2 separate regions of the Homo sapiens genome follow, and region 1 is linked to region 2. The links are contacts of gene promoters, found by promoter capture Hi-C in blood cells and fetal thymus (Javierre and others, 2016). All regions are on one chromosome and are shown on one strand. Each heading gives the region's core, a stretch centred on a gene start or on the middle of the fragment in contact. The rest is flanking DNA. Distances are from core to core; before and after follow the strand shown. Region 1 holds the start of OR5K2 (olfactory receptor family 5 subfamily K member 2). Region 2 holds the start of OR5K4 (olfactory receptor family 5 subfamily K member 4).

Region 1 (4,211 bases), core at 1,300-3,799, 140 kb before region 2:
ATTCTTTCACAGGATTTATGAGGGTTGGATGAGGTAATGTGTATACACAGCTTAGCACATGGACGCATAGTAAGTATCCAAGTACATTTGGTGATGCTGATGGACGTGCATTAGGCAAAAACTCAACTGATGGGGTTTAAATTTGAAACAGGCAAGGAAATACTGAAATGTCTGAGTATAATTGGAATGAACTAGGTTAGGTTTTCTTGGAGGTTACAAATATACACTATATTTTTATAGTTTTTCATTCATGATTTAGGGAATTATATCTAGAAATATATCTGTTTTCTACTCCCTTTTCTATATAGACTCAGCATGCTGATTTTCCATGTGATGCCAGCCTCTGGTGGCTGGCTAGCTTGAGGCCCACTGCAATCTGACAACTGCCTTCTGGAAATTTAGATGTGACCACAGAGCATCAAGAGAGGAGGTGGAAGGGAGAATTTTTCTGTTACTTGTTATGGGTCCTCCTTGTTCCAGAAGTTAGTAATTAAAATAATGGCAATGTTCTATTATTTAAGAAGATGAAAAGAGTGGTGTCTTGGTCATTAATATGTCTCAGCATCTAGAACAGTGCTTGCACATAGCAGAATCTCAATAAATATATGTAGAGTGAATAATTGGAAAGTATCTCTTTAATGATGTCACATAAGATTATTAGGTTCTATCCATATTAAACGACTTTAAGTTTTGCAATGGTGAAGGAATAAAAGAAAATATTTGAGATAAGCCCTGTCCACAGTCCCACAATCACACTTTTTTACATGTCTGTATATAATATACCCAAAGGTTGTGTCTCCATTGTTTAACCCCTTCCTCACCTCTCAGGAATGGGCACAGAGAAGTTTAGCCTAACTCACTGACAATGAAGGCTCTTCAGATCTACATGAAGTTTGAAATGTTTGTCTAGAACTTTATGATATGGTATCTTTATGCATGTAGGTTTTGGAGTAAATAAAACTTAATGTAACCTATCTTGAAATTTGACATTCTGATTTTAATTATTTAAATGTTTAAATCATTTAACAACAACTTCTATTTGGAAATATAATATTCACTTTTATTGGCACAATCACTTCCTGACTACCTCATTCTAACTACAATAATGTCCCCCACATGCTATTACATTTTCTTCCTCAAAATTCACTTGCCATTTTTGTTGCTCATGGATATAAGTGAGTTCGTTGGTTGACTGTTCACATGATCTTAAACACTTAACTGTAATGCACATGTTGTAAGCTATAGAGTGGGCTGGTTATCAAAGCCCGCTTTGTAAATGGTATGGCTTTTTATATTTGTAACTGGTAGTTTTGCTGTTGTTTTGGGTGTTGATCATCATTGATACTAACACAGTCTATAGGCATGGTGGCTTTCTACATTGCTGCTTGAGTGAATTCAATGTCTGCATGTGCTTTTAAATTCTGAGTAAATATTTAGCACAGTTCACTCCTTTCCATGAATTTTCCCTGTCACATATTTCTGCTTAATTTGATTGTATTTTGATATGTTTTAATATTTTGTATACAATTAGTACACTTCCTCTGTGTAATTTTATTTAGAAGTTTTTTGAGCATTAAACCATTAAGCTAGGATAGATGTCATTTGTTCACACTTCCTTGAGATTTTATTTTCAGCAGAATTTTTCTTAAGACACTTATTACTTCCTTGTTTCTCAGACTATAAATGAAAGGATTTAGTAAGGGAACTACTATTGTAAATAAAATAGCAGCTGGTATATCATTACCTCCTTCTTCAAGCAAATTTGGTCTAATGTATAGGAAAAAAATAGATCCATAGAATAATGAAACTGATGAAAAGTGGGATGCACAAGTAGAAAAGGCTTTGGCCCTTCCCTCCTTGGATTTCATTCTGAAAATAGTAAGAAGAATATAGAGATAAGATATTAAGACACTACCTATGGTAAAGACTTGAACTGAACCTGAGAAGATGAATAGAACCAGTTCATTGATGAAAGGGTCAACACAGGAGAGTCTATACAAGGGAAGAGTATCACAGTAAAAGTGGTTGATGTGATTCAATCCACAGAAAACTAACCTAAATACAAGCCCTACATGAATCATGGAATGCAGATTTCCAGCTATGAAGGCGCCTGTGGTCATCTGAATGCAGAGTTTCTTGGACATCATGATGTGGTACTGCAGTGGGTTGCAGATGGCCACATAGCGGTCATAGGCCACTGCTGCCAGAAGAAAGCAGTCTGCAGTTTCCACAGTGCAAAGAAAATAAAACTGTACTGCACATTCATAGAGGGAAATCCTTTTGCCCTCAGAAAAGAAGTTCTCTAACATTTTGGGGGTAATAGCACAGGCACAGCAAGAATCCACAAGAGCCAGATTTCCCAGAAAGATGTACATTGGTGTGTGAAGCCGACAGTGTGTAAATATCAGTGCCACCAAACTAATATTCCCCACCACGGTGATCAGATAGATGGCAAAGAACACCACAAACAGCAGAGTCTTCAGCTCAGGGTGATCTGTAAATCCTGTGAGGATAAACTCATTTTTCATGGTATGATTTTCTTCAACCATTCCTGACCTCTCTGAAAAAAATTGTAGAGGAATAAGGCACTAATTAATAATATGCCACAATTATTGACGTCTCTTTGGCTTAAAAGAAGGAGAGCATCTTCCACAATGTCTCCTCATCTTGCCTGGAATTTGGTGCATGCCCAATTCACTGCGAGAATGAGTCTCCTGAGGCTACTACTTTTGTGGCTATTGGTTGAACATGTTTCTATCATATTTTGAAAAAATATCTGATTGGGTGCACAAGGATGACTTTTGAGGTCTTGAGAGAAATATTGAGAGCACAGAACTTCTCCATATAGTATAGGTAAAGCTGATTCGTAATTTAAGTGTCAGTAATTGGTACCAGTGTTCCCGATTTCAATGTTTGTATATGTAGTGGTTAACAATGTGTTTAAAAGACTATTTTTGTATGCTAATGTTAACAGCAGCATTACCTTCAATAACCAAAACGTAAAAACAACCCAAATGTTCATGGACAGGTGAATGGATAAATAAATTGTGGTGGAATATTACTCAGTCTTAAAAAGGATTGAAATTCTCATACATGTTACAACATGGATTAACCTTGAGGACATAAGGCTGATTGAAATAAGCCAGACACAAAAGGACAAATATTGTATGATTCCAATTACATGAGAAAGCTAGAGTAGTCGAACTTACAGAGACAGAAAGTTGAATGGTAGTTGCCAGGGGAAGGGGTCTACTGGGAGCTATTGTTTAATGGGTACAGTGTTTCTGTTTAGGAAGATGAAAATGTTCTAGAGATAAATGATGGTGATCATTCCACAACAATATTAATGCACTTAATGCTACTGAACTGTACACTTAAATATGACTAAAATGATAAAAGTTATGTTGTGTATAATTTACCCCAATAAAAATATTTTTAAAATACTATTTTCATCTGCCTATTTCAGCAAATTACTATCTCCAATACTAGTGGAATATACACTTAAAAATAAGATGCTCTGGGGGAAAAGGGAATATTTATAAGATATTTATATTCCTGGGAGTTGGGGAGTAAAAGTGTTATGGATGGAAGCTGGGAGAAAAAACAAAACACTGCATTTAAAAAGTCTGGTGAGCACAGTGGCTTATGCCTGTAATCCCAGCACTTCAGGAGGCTGAGGAGGGAGCATCACTTGAATCCAGGAGTTCCAGACCAGCCTGGGCAACATAATGAGGCCCTGTCTCTTAAAAAAAAAAATAAAGTATATAAAATTACCAGGGCATTGTGACATGCTCCTGTAGTGCCAGCTACTGGGGAGGCTGAGGTGAGAGGATTCATTGAGCCTGAGAGATGGGGGCTGCAGTGAGCCATAATAGCATCACTGCACTCCAGCCTGGGTGACACAGCGAGACCCTGTCTCAAAAAAACCAAACCAAAACCAAAAAGCCTCCTATGTTACTAGTGATACTATGAGTAAAACTACTTATGTGCATAAAGAAATTAATGTTATTAAAAGCAATTGGAGAAATCCTGAGTTAAAAATATATTCGGTTGTCTAACTACGTATCAAAAAATTATGAATAAAATGTCAAACTGGGAGATTATCTGCAGTAAATTTGATAAAGTTTCTGTACCTTTGCTATAAGATCTCATACAAATGAGTAGGAATAATTACTAGAAAATAGGTAAAGCCCAGGAATAGAAAAATCTCA
Region 2 (3,763 bases), core at 909-3,408:
AAATATCAAAAAAGGAAGGAGGAGGAAAATAGGGAGAAGGAGAAGAAGAGAAATAAGAAAAGGAGAAAAAGAAATATTGGTTAATAGTAGACTGGATTAAAAAAGAAATTCTGGATGAAATGCATGAAAGAGATCATAGAAAAAATAAGTAAATATGAGTATATTAAATTAAAATATTTATAAATATCAGAAACAAATACTAAGACTATCAACCCACAGAAGAATTATTTGCCACAAATAGTTGTGATGTCTTTTCTCTGTAAACAATGATATAAATAAGAAATAAAACAGACAAAACAAAAATGACAATTCATAAAAGTAAAAATGGTCAATAAACACATAAAATATTGGTACAGCTTACCATTACTCAAAAATAAAACAATGTCATTATTAATATGTTTTAAAATGTTTAATGAGTGTTAATATGTAAACTGTAGTTATATATAATACATAGCCAATAACATGGTTGATGCCTTCAAGAATGAAAAGGAACTTAATTATGCTTCTGGCTAAAGTAGACCTTAATCTACTCTGTCCAATTTGTTATAAGTCACAATTAATTATTCTGCAAAATAGAATATTTTGTAGGTGAGCCTCTTTGCATGTGTGTATGTGTGTGTCTGTGTCTGTATATGTCTGTGTATGTGTGTGTGTGTTCCTTTTCATTTTTTTTCATTCTTGCAATCTTATCTAAATAAAACTTCATTACCTTAAATATAAATTACTGCAATTAGTTTGCTTCTAGTCTTTTCCACTCTAAAGTAATCCACATGTGTCTCTCAGGTCAGTTTTCTGAAAGAAAACTATCATTTCACTTTTCTGCCAGGAAATTTTAAATGTTTCAAACACGCTACATAGGATTGGATATAATGTCTTCCATTAACTAGGAAACATTAATCAAAGAAGACTCTTCTACACATTTAAACATTTAACTTTCATGCTATGTTGATTAATTGAGGTTTAGGATAATACTCTCTGACAATTCCATGAGAGTCATGAAAGGTAGTAATAACAGTTACCAGTGAGTTTCCCCGATTCATTCTGGTTGTGGGATTTGGATAAAGATTTGTGAAACAATTTTGAAATTCCATTGATATATTTTTTAAACAAACATAGCCTAATGATTTATAAGCTTACATTTTGTGTAAAATCACATATTAATTTTTCTATGTTCCCTCTTTATGAAAGCATTTTAATAAATTAAAAATAAATTTGCTATAGAGCAAGTTTGTTTAAGAATGTTATAATTCCTCATAATTTTTTTAAGAACATTTATGACCTCCTTATTTCTCAGACTATAAATAAAAGGGTTTAGTAATGGGATTACTATTGCATAAAATATTGCCACTGGTGTATCTTTATCTCCTTCTTCAGATGGTCCAATATACATGAGAAGACAAATGTAAAATATTGAGACAGAGAGAAAGTGGGATGCACAGGTAGAAAATGCTTTACCTCTTCCCTCCTTGGATTTCATTTTGAAAACAGTCAAAAGGATGCAGAGATAAGAGATCAAGACAGTAGCAATGGTAAAGATTTGAATTGGTATTGAAAAGATATATATCATTAGTTCATTAATAGAAGGATCTGTACAGGAGAGTCTATACAGTGGAAGAATATCACAGAAAAAGTGGTGAATTTTATTAGACCTGCAGAAAGTTAACCTTAATAAAAGCCCTACATGAATCATGGAATGCAGGTTTCCAGCTTTGAAGGCCCCTGTGGTCATCCGAATGCAGAGCGTCTTGGACATCATGGTGTGGTACTGCAGTGGGTGGCATATGGCCACATAGCGGTCATAGGCCATTGTCGCCAGAAGAAAGCAGTCTGTGGTTTCAGCAAGACAGAGAAAATAAAATTGTGCCATACATTCATACAGGGAAATAATTCTATCCTCAGAAAAGAAATTCTCTAACATCTTGGGGGTAACAGCACAGGAACAGCAGGAATCCATCAGAGCCAGGTTGCCCAGAAAGATGTACATTGGTGTGAGAAGACGACGCTCTACATAAATTAATGCCACCAGACCAAGATTCCCCACCATGGTGACCAGATAGATGGCAGAGAACACCACAAACAGAAGCGTCTTCAGCTCTGGATAATTTGTAAATCCTATGAGGATGAATTCAGCTGCTAAGGAGTGATTTTCCCTAGCCATTCCTGGCTTCTCTTCTGAGACATAAATTGTAAAGAAATGTAAGATTCCAAAGCAGAATGTTTCTAATTCTCACCCTCTAATTTCCCTGTATACAAAAGGGAAGAAAGTCTTCTTCAAATTATCCTGTGCCATCTCCTAAACACTAGCACACTCACTGTGGGTCAAATCAAGTGAGAAAAAATGTATCATGGATTGTGTACCCAGGGCTTGTCTGAAAATATCTGTGTGAATTCCTAGGGCAGGAAAGCTTTATCTGCATGAATTATCCTATGCCGATGTAAAATCTGTGGTCAGTACATATAATTTTCCATTTCCAAAATTAAGACATTTTCTTATGGTATCTTTTCCTCCAGGAAAAAGTAAACAAGTTTTAAATCGTATCCTATTGGATCAATGTGACGCTTAAAATGAATTACTCTTAAGGCATTTTAAATGTCTACATTTTAAAAACTGCACAGAAACACAGTGATTTGAAGAATGCTTTTGCTAGCTTAGTAACCCTTTCCAGATAAGGTCACCAATTGCATATTTTATGAGATATCTACTCATCCTTTTAGAGAGGATAAGAATATGAAACATCTATGAGTGTTCTTAATCATTGTATTGGATATCATTTTTATGTTCATTTCAACATATTCTAGATACTATTCCAATCTTGGTATGACAAATTTCCCAAGGAGTTATTACTCTTAATTGCTCACTTATCCTAATACTTTCTGTCTCTAGTTTTAAGAGTTTTACATGCATGTCCAACATTGTAAGATTTGGTGGCAAAATCTCCACTCATAATGTGAATATTCTTCATGGTAAATATCTATTTTGTATTCACTCAAACATCTCTCATAGAAAGTAATGTCTTCATTTTCAGTGAGTTCTATGGAGGTTCTCCATTTATTTACTTGAGTTTTAAATTTATTTAAATTTACAAACTCATTATCTACTCTTTACTGGCTATATATTTATTTGAGTTTAATGATCAACTAAATTTATTATATAGTTCTTATAGTTTGGCAACTGTACATTAAAATATTTCAGGTACAGAAACAATTTGAGTTTTAAAGAATAATAAAATTAACTTTCTTTTCTTTTAGAAGTTTCTAAAAGTCTTTAGCCTTAGCATACTCCAAACAGACAATTTTGGAGAAGAGCCTACGATAGTTAATTCAAAGCACATTTTTTTTTTTTTTGAGACAGAGTTTCAAGCACTTCTCCTGCCTCAGCCTCCCGAGTAGCTGGGATTACAGGCATGAGCCACCATGCCTGGCTAATTTTGTATTTTTAGTAGAGACGGGGTTTCACCATGTTGGTCAGGCTGGTCTCGAACTCCTGACCTCAGGCGATCCGCCCGCCTCGGCCTCCCAAAATGCTGGGATTACAGGCATGAGTCACCTCGCCCGGCCAGTGAATTACTTTGAAAACATTTTGGTTAGGTTTTCTCTGTTTCTTACTTTTGTTTTTCTATTGACTCACATAATATGATGAGGTTTTCTGGAGTTTTATCACTAGAGGCTTGTAATCAAATGAATACAATAAAATGTCCTTTATATTTTAGGTCTATACCTCTTTTAAAAAATCTTTCAGAATTATATTTTTAAAAAAACTTTG

Evidence for each region. The method cuts DNA at HindIII sites, captures the fragments that hold promoters and counts their contacts. A CHiCAGO score of 5 or more calls a contact.
Region 1: the fragment with the promoter of OR5K2 here is called in contact with the fragment with the promoter of OR5K4 in region 2 in 3 of 17 cell types (naive CD8 T cells, activated CD4 T cells and total CD8 T cells); the score reaches 7.1 in naive CD8 T cells.

Annotation. Positions count from the first base shown.
Region 1 is chr3:98,496,019-98,500,229 of GRCh38, reverse strand. It overlaps OR5K2 (olfactory receptor family 5 subfamily K member 2), which reads right to left and starts at 2,549. Exons shown (of 1, transcript NM_001004737.1): 1 at 1,599-2,549. The coding sequence starts at 2,549. The coding sequence ends at 1,599. The HindIII fragment of the contact is 17,047 bases long and covers 1-4,211 here.
Region 2 is chr3:98,352,249-98,356,011 of GRCh38, reverse strand. OR5K4 (olfactory receptor family 5 subfamily K member 4) reads right to left here and starts at 2,158. Exons shown (of 1, transcript NM_001005517.1): 1 at 1,193-2,158. The coding sequence starts at 2,158. The coding sequence ends at 1,193. The HindIII fragment of the contact is 1,273 bases long and covers 1,135-2,407 here.